3 separate regions of the Homo sapiens genome follow, and all the other regions are linked to region 3. Evidence: promoter capture Hi-C in 16 types of primary human blood cells and fetal thymus (Javierre and others, 2016). All regions are on one chromosome and are shown on one strand. Each heading gives the region's core, a stretch centred on a gene start or on the middle of the fragment in contact. The rest is flanking DNA. Distances are from core to core; before and after follow the strand shown. Region 1 overlaps TUBA1B-AS1 (TUBA1B antisense RNA 1). Region 2 has its middle 34 kb from the start of TUBA1C. Region 3 holds the start of TUBA1A (tubulin alpha 1a).

The links. Contacts are between HindIII fragments. The CHiCAGO score rates a contact against its expected background, and 5 or more counts as called.
Region 1: a fragment that was not itself captured here is called in contact with the fragment with the promoter of TUBA1A in region 3 in 1 of 17 cell types (erythroblasts); the score reaches 5.2 in erythroblasts.
Region 2: a fragment that was not itself captured here is called in contact with the fragment with the promoter of TUBA1A in region 3 in 2 of 17 cell types (M2 macrophages and monocytes); the score reaches 5.6 in M2 macrophages.

What each region holds. Positions count from the first base shown.
Region 1 is chr12:49,138,707-49,142,625 of GRCh38, forward strand. All of the region lies in intron 1 of TUBA1B-AS1 (TUBA1B antisense RNA 1), which reads left to right. Among named protein-coding and RNA genes, the nearest start is that of TUBA1B-AS1, 9.1 kb to the left of the region's middle. The HindIII fragment of the contact is 3,167 bases long and covers 1-2,838 here.
Region 2 is chr12:49,229,183-49,232,803 of GRCh38, forward strand. It overlaps a transcript of TUBA1C not described here. Among named protein-coding and RNA genes, the nearest start is that of TUBA1C, 34 kb to the right of the region's middle. The HindIII fragment of the contact is 1,619 bases long and covers 1,127-2,745 here.
Region 3 is chr12:49,187,353-49,190,968 of GRCh38, forward strand. TUBA1A (tubulin alpha 1a) reads right to left here and starts at 1,728. Exons shown (of 4, transcript NM_006009.4): 1 at 1,625-1,728. The coding sequence starts at 1,627. RefSeq lists enhancers at 1,407-1,998, 1,497-1,616. The HindIII fragment of the contact is 8,438 bases long and covers 1-3,616 here.

The sequences.
Region 1 (3,919 bases), core at 5-2,504, 49 kb before region 3:
GTCCCCGGGGACAAATAAATGCAACCTTGTTTCCCTTTGCCAGATACTTGCTTTTTCAGTTTCCTTCATGATTGGACCTGATTCTGACCAATGGGACATAAAGAGGCAAGTCAGCTGAGGACTTTCTGGGAATGATTTTCTTCTCTGATAAAAAGAGATTACCCCGTTGAGGAAGTCCCTTTTGTTTCACCCCTCTCCCTTTGCTTTCTGCCTTTGGAAATGTTCTTTGAAGATATGATGCCTAGAGCCAACTTCAGTCCTTGAGGGTCTAATGCAAAGAGAATCATAAAGATGCCAGTTCAGTGCAGTGGTCTGATATTGTGAAGCTATCGACCTAACCTTAAAACCAACCTATCTCCACATTTATTAATTAAATAATAAATTAAAGAAACTAAATAAATATTAATGAATAAAGGAAACAGTAAATGTCCTTATAATGTAAGCCAATGCAAGCAGGCTTTATCCCTAGAGACAAGAACAATACCTGGCACATAGTAGGTGCTTAATATGTAATTTTTGTTTAATATTGAACCTTGTGATTGATTGGATATGGGTTGTGAGGTAAAGTAAGGAATGGAGGTTATTTTGTAGGTTTCTCATTTATTTTATTTATCTATCTATCTATCTATTTATTTATTTTTGAGACAGAGTCTCACTCTGTTTCCCAGGCTAGAGTGCAGTGGCACGATCTTGGCTCACTGCAACCTCTGCCTCCCAGGTTCAAGTGATTCTCCTGCCTCAGCCTCCCAGGTAGCTGGGATTACAGATATGTGCTACCACGCCTGGTTAATTTTTGTATTTTTAGTAGAGACCGGGTTTCACCATGTTGGCCAGGCAGGTCTCGAAATCTTGACTTCAAGCTATCCGCCCACCTCGGCCTCCCAAAGTGCTGGGATTACAGATGTGAACCACTGCGACCAGCAAAGGTTTCTCATTTAAATAACCACGTGAATCGTGGTGCTTTTCACTGAGATCAAAATATTGAAGAAAGAAGTGGGCGGGAAGTAAGAAAAGGTCAGTTTTTAACACATTTTGAGGTTTAAGTGTCGGTAGTACATATGCTTAGAGATGTCCATTAGGCAGACATACTTGCAGATATGGAGAGGGGAGAGAGAGACAGATTTTGAACCTTCAGTATTAAAATGGTAATTAAACTACGGGAATGGTAAGACCTCTCAGGGGGAATGTGTAGAGCTAGGAAAGTAGTGCTTTTCTTTCTTTTTTTTTTTTTTTCTTTTTGATACGGAGTCTCACTCTGTCACCCAGGCTGGAGTGCAGTGGTGAAATCTCGGCTCACTGCAACCTCTGCTACCTGGGTTCAAGCAATTCTCCTGCCTCAGCCTCCGAAGTAGCTGGGATTACAGGTGCTTGCCATCGTGCCCAGCTAATTTTTGAATTTTTAATGTAGACAAGGTTTCACCATGTTGGCCAGGCTGGTCTGGAACTCCTGACCTCATGATCCACCCGCCTTGGCCTCCCAAAGTGCTGGGATTACAGGCGTGAGCCACCGTTCCCGGCTGAACGTGGTGGTATTAATAGAGAACCCTGAAGTAGATAGAGAACCTGGCCTTAGTAAGGAATTGAAAGAATGATCACATTTAAAGTGGAGAAAATGAGCTTATAAAAGGAGTCTGGGGCTGGGCACAGTGGCTCACGCCTGTAATTGCAGCACTTTGGGAGCCCAAGGCAGGCGGATCACCTGAGGTCAGGAGATCGAGACCAGCCTGAGCAACATGGAGAAACCCCATCTCTACTAAAAATACAAAATTAGCCGGGCATGGTGGCGCATGCTTGTAATCCCAGCTACTTGGGAGGCTGAGACAGGAGAAGCACTTGAACCCAGGAGGCTGAGGTTGCGCCATTGCACTCCAGCCTGGGCAACAACAGTGAGACTCCATCTCAAAAAAAAAAAAAAAAAAGTGGCTGGGCATGGTGGCTCATGCCTGTAATCCCAGCACTTTGGAAGGCCGAGACAGGTGGATCGCAAGATCAGGAGATCAAGACCATCCTGACCAACATGTGAAACCCCGTCTCTACTAAAAAAATACAAAAATTAGCCAGGCATGGTGGCGTGCACTTGTAGTCCCTGCTACTCAGGAGGCTGAGTCAGGAGAATTGCTTGAACCCAGGAGGCGGAGGTTGCAGTGAACCGAGATTGTGCCACTGCACTCCAGCCTGGGTAACAGAGCGAGACTGTCTCAAAAAAAAAAAAAAAAAAAAAAAATGGAGTCTGAGCCGGTCGCAATAATCCTAGCACTTTGGGAGGCCAAGGCAGGTGGATCACCTGAGGTCAGGAGTTCAAGACCAGCCTGGCCAACATGCTGAAACCCCATCTCTACTAAAGCTGGGCATGATGGCAGGTGCCTGTAATCCCAGCTACTCAAGAGGCTGAGACTGAAGAATCACTTGAACCTGGGAGACAGTGGTTGCAGTGACCTGAGATCGCACCACTGCACTCCAGCCTGGGCGGCTAAGCGAGACTCCGTTTCAAAAATAAATAAACAAATAAACAAAAGGAGTCTGAGAAAGAATGATCAAAGAGGAAGAACTGGGGGTTTTACGATCCAAGTAAAGAGTTTCAAGCGAGTACAGTGTCAAATGCTGCAGTGTCAAATCCTGCAGGTTAAATAGGGTAAAGACTAGAAAGTGTCCATTGTATTAAATATAGAGAAAACAGTATGGTGTCTATTTTTATTTATTTACTTATTGGACAAGTATTGAGAGCTTACCATGGCAGGTACTCCTTATAAGTGCTGGGTTGATATAACAGTGAATAAAATAAGTCTTGCTGGAGTCGTGAGAAGGGACATGCTTGCCTGTTCCTAATCTTAGTGAGAAAGCTTCTAATTTCTCACTTTTAAGTATAGTGTTAGCTGTAGGGATTTTGTAGACATTCTTGATCAAGACGAGAAAGTTCCCCTCTAAGTTTATCAAGAGAGTTTATCATGAATGAGTGTTGGATTTTGTCATATGCTTCTTCTGCATATGTTGATATGATTATGTGATTTTTCTTTCTTTTTTCTTTTTTAAACAGTTTTGCTCTGTTGCCCAGAATGGAGTGCAGTGGCACCATCTTGGCTCACTGCAACCTCCACCTCCCTGGTACAAACAATTCTCGTGCCTCAGCCACTGGATTAGCTGGGATTATAGACGCACGCCACCACACCTGGCAAATTTTTTTTATTTTTAGCAGATGCAGGGTTTCACCATGTTGGCCAGGCTGGTCTTGAACTCCTGACCTTAAGCCATCTGCTTGTCTCGGCCTCCCAAAGTCCTGGGATTGCAGGCATGAGCCACTGCACCTGGCCTTTTTCTTCTTTAGACTGCTGATCTGATGGATTTTATTAATTGATCTTTTCTTTTTCTTTCTTTTTTTTTTGAGACAGGGTCTTGCTCTGTCACCCAGGCCGGAGTGCAGTGGCATGAACATAGCTCACTGCAGTCTCGGTCTCCTGGGCTTCAGCGATCCTCTCACCTCAGCCTCCTGAGTAGCTAGGACCACAAGTGTATGCCACCACACCCTGCTAATTTTTAAATTTTTTGTAGAGATGAGGTCTTGCCACGTTGTTCAGGCTGGTCTTGAGCTCCTGAGCTGAAGTGATTGTCCCACTTCAGCCTCCCAACATGCTGGGATTATAGGTATGCGCCACTGCTCCTGGCCTTATTCATTTTCAAATGTTGAACCAGCCTTGTATACCTGGGATAAATTCCACTTGGTCTTGGTATATAATTCTTTTTATCCAGTGTTGGATTTGATTTTCTGATATTTAATTAAGGATTTTTGCATCTATGTCCATGCAAATATTGGTCTGTAGTTTTCTTTTTTCTTTTTTTTTTTTTTGTAGTATCTGTCTGGTTTTGGTATTACGGTAACACTGATCTCATAGAATGAGTTAGGGAATAATCCCTCTGCTTCTTT
Region 2 (3,621 bases), core at 686-3,185, 42 kb after region 3:
TGCGTGCGTGTGACAGAGTCTCACCCTGTCGCCCAGGCTGGAGTGCAGTGGCATAATCTCGGCTCACTGCAACCTCTGCCTCCTGGGTTCAAGCAATTCTTTGCCTCAGCCTCCCGAATAACTAGGATTACAGCTGTGCACCACCATGCCCAGCTAATTTTTGTATTTTTAGTAGAGACAGGGTTTCACCATCTTGGCCAGGCTGATCTTGAACTCCTGACCTCAGGTGATCCGCCCGCCTTGGCCTCCCAAAGTGCTGGCATTACAGGCGTGAGCCACCACACCCAGTCTATTTTTTAACAGCATCACTTGTTTCTTTTCTGTCCTTTCTTTCTTTACATACCCCTTATACGAATAAATTATCTTGTAAAAAGACAAAGGAAAAGTCTGCCGGTACTGCTCACTTCACCCCAAACCCAGTCCTCTCCCCAAAGAAACCCCTGTTAACAATTTGGGGGTGTAACCAACTATTTCTTACCTGTTTGCATAGAGGTGTGTGTGTGTGTGTGTGTGTGCACATCACATTGTTTTGTGTGACTTTTTAAGAGATAAATGGTGCCATGTTGTGCTTTTTATTCTTAACTTGCTTTTTTTTTCTTTTTAAATTTATTTCATTATTTTATTTTTTGAGATGGAGTCTTGCTCTGTCGCCCAGGCTGCAATGGCACAGTATAGGCTTACTACAACCTCTGCCTCCTGGGTTCAAGCGATTCTCCTGCCTCAGCCTCCCTAGTAGCTGGGACTATAGGCGTGTACCACCATACCTGGCTAATTTTTGTATTTTTAATAGAGACAAGGTTTCACCATGTTGGCCAGGCAGGTCTCAAACTCCTGACTTCGTGATCTGCTTGCCTTGGCCTCCCAAAGTGCCGGGATTACAGGCATAAGTCAACATCCTGGCCTTTTTTTTTTTTTTCTTTTTTAGAACAGTCTATGCCTTGTGGAGATCTTTACCTGGCAGTATGCTTAAATCTAATTCATTCTATTTAACTCTTACATAGCATTCCATGCATAATGACTTGTACTGTTTTCTCTTGACCTCATCTGTGCTTTTGAAATGGTTTAATGGCATACAAGTCAACATTTAACCATATTTGTATTTATGGGGCAGGGAGAGACAGGTGCAAGCTTTCTGGCTGGCTGGAGTGTTACTAAAAACATAGGAGAAGAAGGAAAGGTGAGACACGCCCACGCCAGTACTGTGAGCCCAAGTGAGAGGCCTGGGGCAGGTACAGTGTTATCAGTAGATTCGTTCCCTCTCTGCCTCTGAATATTTGAGCATTTACCTTTTTCTTGAGCCCAGCTGTTCTCCAGACATTTATTCCTTATATATGAGATAACAATAACATCCTCCACAGGGTGCCATGGGGATTAAACTAGAAAATGCACAGGAGAAGACATCAAGCCCAGGCATACTGCGACATGTTCCGTTATGAATTGTGCCTGTGCTGACCCTTTTCCCTCTCCCTCTCAAATCATGTATTGCTTTTTAAATTTTATTTGAGCTCGTTTGCTCTGAAGGACTATCCCTCTCACTTCAGATATTAGGTTGCAAGGCTCAAAGCAGGGTGGTTAATAAATGGAGCTATGGAGGTCATCATGAGATGTTCTGGTGCAGGATTTTGCCTGAAAGCATTGGAAACTGACTGAGAGCTGGACTCAAGTCCTGATGTGGACACTTACTAGCGGTGTGACTTGGGTAATGTTTTGTCATCTGGAAAATAAGCGTAATCCTAATAGTAATACTTAAGTCTGTGGGGTGTGGTCAGATATAAATGAGATAATGTATGAAAAGAACTTAGTATCGTTTCTGGTATACAGGAAGGTCAGCTGCTGTCATTGTTATTTAGAAAGGTTGCACCATCTCCACTTCTGTTTTCTGGCTATAAAGTATCACTGTCTAGCTTCCTCAGAAGTGACAATAAAAACAGGCTTAATCTCAGAGCACAGCTGTTTGTTGTTCCATTAGTCCATCATTATTTTTTAATTGTTGTTTTTTATAGTCAGGGTCTCATTCTATTGCCCAGGCTGTAGTGCAATGGTGCAATTATAGCTCACTACAGCCTTAAACTCCTGGGCTCAAGTGATCCTCCTGTCTCACCCTCCCAAGGAGTTGGGACTAACTACGGGCATGCACCACCACTCCCAGCTCTAATTTTTAAAAAATTTTTGTAGATATAGGATCTTGTGTTGCCCAGACTGGTCTCATACTCCTGGGCTCAAGCAATCCTCCCACCTCAGCCTCCCAAAGTGCTGGGATTACAGGTGTGAGCCAGCACTAATTTCTTTTTTAAGTATTCCGAGTGACCACTGCATGTGTAATACCTTGCTGGGCACTGTGCGAAATATAAAGGAAGTGCGAAACAGGGCTCTTGCCCTCAAAGTGCTTACAACTTTTAAATTTAATCTCCTTAACACTGGAGAGAACACGGCGTAGTATTGTGAACGTATGTGCCATGGCTATTTTTCTTTAAACTTCTGCTACTTAAAAAAAATAGATGATAGATAGATAGATAGACAGACAGACAGACAGACAGATAGATAGATAGATAGATGGAGTCTCGCTATGTTGACTAGGCTGGTCTCGAACTCCTGGCCTCAATTGATCCTCCCATCTCAGCCTCCTGAAGGGCTAGGATTACAGGCATGCACCACTGCGCCTGGCCTTCTGTTACTTTCAGAGGCATCCATAATTCTTGGACACCTGCTCATATGTTCTGTGTCTAGCTTCAGAATTATTGTAGAAGCTTGCCTGAACGTCACCTATAGAACCTGAGCCATTAGATCATCTATCCCTAAACGCTAATGCTGGGCTGATTTCCTGGCTGGGGGTGGCTCTCATTTCCTCCAGAGGGCCTGACAGAAGGAGGACAAGAGCTGATTGGGAGGAGCTGCCCTCAGGGCCACCCAACGCTTGCTTTCACAGTAACCTGCAGATAGTCCCTTGTTCTGGACACAACAGGAGTGGATATTTAGCAAGCAGATGAAATCCAAAGAGCAGAAACTGTCTGAAAGGGCCTGAGGATGCTGTGTGAAGGGAATGAAGCAACCTCATTTTTGCGGATAAATTCCCCGGAAATAAACCTATAGTATTTACAAAATGTCCACCTTGTCCTTCTCAGCACAGTAAGCTTTCTCTGACCCACAGAACCCATTTTCTGTTTGGATATGAACTCATTGCAGCCTGCCCAACATGAAATTCCAACTGGACATAAAAGGGCACTTCAGCTGTCAAGCCACGTGTGGATTTCGGTTTAAGAATCAGCCCAGGCAGCAGATGCTCCAAGTGCTTGGGGAGTGGCACGCCTATTCCTGATACAGAAGTCAGGCACCCTTTGTCTTGATCCCCCACTTAAATCAGGGATAGGCAATTCTGAATTTTTAAAAAGGCGCTATGTTAAATCCTTCTTATGAGAAAAAAATATCACTTATAATGTAGAAAGTTGAGGTTTCTCAGAGAGCTCTCCCTTTTACTGCTGAAGGGGCTTCTCAGCAGGCAAAGATATCTGCTCAGTAACTTATACTTCTGTGAAGAAGAGATTCCTAAGTGTAAGATGTATGACTTGTCGTTTTGGGGTTAAGTACAATCCCAAACACTCTGTCTCCACCACCTTTTTTCTG
Region 3 (3,616 bases), core at 478-2,977:
TGCTGCATTGCTGTATTTGCTGTGCCTGGTGCTAGCCTGTACTGTCTGCTACATTATTTAACAGAGCAAGCTCTATTTCCAGCAGCTGCCTACATGATCTCATTGTGCTGTTTTGCCAGTTTTCCTCCTCTGACCCCGCCCGGGACCATGTGCCTGAATTGAAATGAATTAATTAAGATGCACTGGAACAAAAGACAACGGGATGCGGAGTATAATTCTTCTTTGTCTGTAGCAATTTCATTACTTTTTTTTTTAAAAAAAAAGGTTTTTCCAGATCTTCTCCACTGTAAAAGCTGAAAAATTATCCGTATCTTAACACACACACACACAAAAGTTCCTAAGTTAGAAACAAGCATCACATGAAAAGGTACCAAAGAATAAAAGCCCAGTGGAAGGATAATGAAATATTTATTTAAAACAACAAAATAGTATTTTCATCCTGAGATTCTCTACCCATCACATAATATTCATATTCTTTGCATCCAATAGAGGTTTTCTTCTCTGTGGTCTTTAGGGCTACCACTTTCATTGTCTATTCGCTGATGTGGTGGGGGCGGGGCGGGGGGGCGGCGGGGAAGGGCGTTTCCCTGGGTCCTGACCATCAGGGTACCCTGGGGCTCACAAAGTGGGCTTTCTCCCTCGCTGAACGTGCAGTCCAGACAGACAGACAGACACACACACACACACACACACACTTCAGTCGGTCAGGGCAGGGCGTCCCACAGACACACACACACACACACACACACACACACACACACTTCAGTCGGTCAGGGCAGGGCGTCCCCAGACCAGACATTAAAGAGCTTGTGAAGTGAATTATGATTTTGCTCAAGAAAAAAAAAAGTCATCTAACTTATAATAGTGAAGAAAACCCTTTTGGAGCCTACAGTTCCGCAATGATGAAAGGTTTTTTTGTTTTTTTTTCAGTCAGCTCCTGACAGAAGAGGTTCAGTGAGGGCGAACCCCGCCCAGTGGCTCCAACGCCATAGAAGCCAGAAACAAACAACCCCGCCCCTGCGCCGCCCTGACACCCGCTGCCGGGGGCTCCGGCAGAAACTCACCATGTTTTCCCGGGAATGTGTGGGTATCTTTCCAAAACGCCAAAGACCGCGGAGGGTCTTCCCACGCTAACCCTAGGCTGCGCTTTGTTCCCGTTCCCCCTCCCACGTCCCCCAGCTCGCCCAACGCCCCCGCTCTTTTTGGGTGCCTCCTCCTCTCCCGGTCCCCAGAGAACAACGCGAGACAGAAAGTGGCCCCTCAGCATCAGCGAAACCGTGCGCACAGACACGGGGCCCAGCCGGGACGCCCCAGACCCCTCGGTCGCGGCAGACGGGCTGCCCGCGGCCCCCGAAAGTCTCTCGGATAACACAGGCGCCTAGGCGCCGCCTTTGTTCCTCCCCAGCGCTCTGCTGCGCCCTGGGCGCAGTACTGGCCCGGTTCCTGCACCCGCACTGCGGCGGCGGCGGGGCTTGAGGATTTGGGGCTAAGCTAAACCTCACAAAACATACCACCACCCTCGCCCAGAGAGCTTACGAAAGAAAAGAGCTTAAAGGTTTTCCAAGTAGAGCCTGGGGGCGCTGACTCCACCCAACGGCCACAAAGAGCCGAAGCCGATTCTCACCATGGTTGCTGCTTCGCGACTGCCGAGCTGATGGCGGAGACGAAGAGGAGAGGTTGTTGCTTCTTACAGCGCGACTCTTAGGCGGTCGATGTAAGAGAACCTGCGGCACATAGGCGGATGCGGCTCCCTATATACAACTCGGTCACCATGGGGATGGGCCGGGGCCTTTTCCTGTTGGTCCAGACCCCCAATCTGCCCAGAGAAGCCATGACAGGAGACTGGTGATTGGTGCAAGCGACGTGGGATGAGGTAATCTCTCCCCCACCCCTTTTTCTCTAGCATCCGTAGACTGTTTGCATCCTTTAGACAAAGAGACCGTGCAGAAGCAGTCGGCCGAGCATCCATTATGGGGCGGGGTTGGGGAGGGGCGGAAGGAGAAGAAAGGGGACTGGGGTTAGAAGACTTTCTGTTGCTTAAACCTCAAACTGCAGTTAAAATTATCTATGTGAGGTTTTTTCCCCCTACCCTTAATAACAATTTATGTTTAGATTAAATATTTAAAGGAAAATGACTGCCAGCCCCTCCCTCGTAGTATATTAAACTCGACTACATTTTGTTAGGGTTCAACATCTCTAATTGCTTTAAACGTAAAGTGGGAGGGAAAATCGGCATGATGCTCGAAATGGCCTGGGTATATGTGATTTTTTTAATTTAAAAAAAGATTTAGCCATACGGTCATTCCAAATGGTTTCTCAGGTTCAACTAACTTATTTTCAGAGCTTCTTCTGCAGGCACACGCACACCCGAATAGCTAAACAAAACTGGAAGATGGAAAGAATAACCATATTAAATAAAGAAGCGAACAAATAGTTCTAACATGGCAATAATCAAGAGCAAGTGAACGTAGAGTAGTTATAATGGTTTACTAGAGGTATTCTTTTATGAGAAGTCTATGTAACACATTTTGTATGGTACATTGTCCTTTGGAATGAATCATCTTTCCTGATAGAAAATTGGGAAAATACAAGGAGAAATAATTGAGCTCAGAAGTTAGTACTACATGTGTGCAGTTACATATCTGAATTGGACTTTTGTCTGGAAAGTAACAAGCAAAATAATAGTAATAACCAATACACCAAATTAAAAAGAAGAAGAGAATAATATAATGTAAAAAGAATTTTGCAATGTCGCCTCCATCCACAGACAACTGTGAAACATCAGCTCAATAAACGCATTTCCTTTTTATGTAGTTCTTATGTCAATTTGGTAAATATCCTCCTGCGAGTGGGCTTCTAACTGTGGGAATTTTAGCCGGCCTCACACCCTTGCTGTTCAGCTAGAGACTCTGGTGGTTGCTCAGTTGTCCCTTGGGACAAAAAGGCTTTGCTTTCACCCCTAGGAAATAAATTGGAGTAAAATTATCTTGATATTTAGGAAGCCTCCATTCTCAGCAACGATCCGGAGTAAGTCACTGGACTTCGTACCACTGGATGTTGGTGATGAAATTTCAGAGGTAAATAAGTTTGGCCACTAAAGTTGAAAATTTATTTTTTACAAATAATTTTTCCTTTTGGTTTTCAGAGACAAATTTTCAGGGTCTGCAGCACTACTCACACAGTGCTCTGCGGAACCCATTCATTCCTGCTAGGCTGGCAGGCTAAGAAGGGCGTGGGAGGGAGGGACTTGAGAATACAGCTGCTGCAGGTTGTGGTGTGACAATGGCGACCACAGATTTTTCTAGCCTGCCATCCACAGTTCTGCTTTACTTGATCAATTTTGCTTCAGTAATATTCTCTGGAAAAAAAATAATATCCAAAATGCAAAAATCATTTTATCTACTTATTGTATATTTCCTAGGAAAAAATAATCCTCAACATCATCTTATCTCCACTTCTTTAGCAAAAAAAAAAAAAAAGTATATTTCAGAAGAGACAGGAGGATTAGGTATTTGAATGCTTCTTTCAGAACCCAGAAATATATTTAACAAAAATAAGAATTAAATGGCATAAGGAAGCATAAGGATTAATAAGTAGCTCATTCAAAATACTTTCA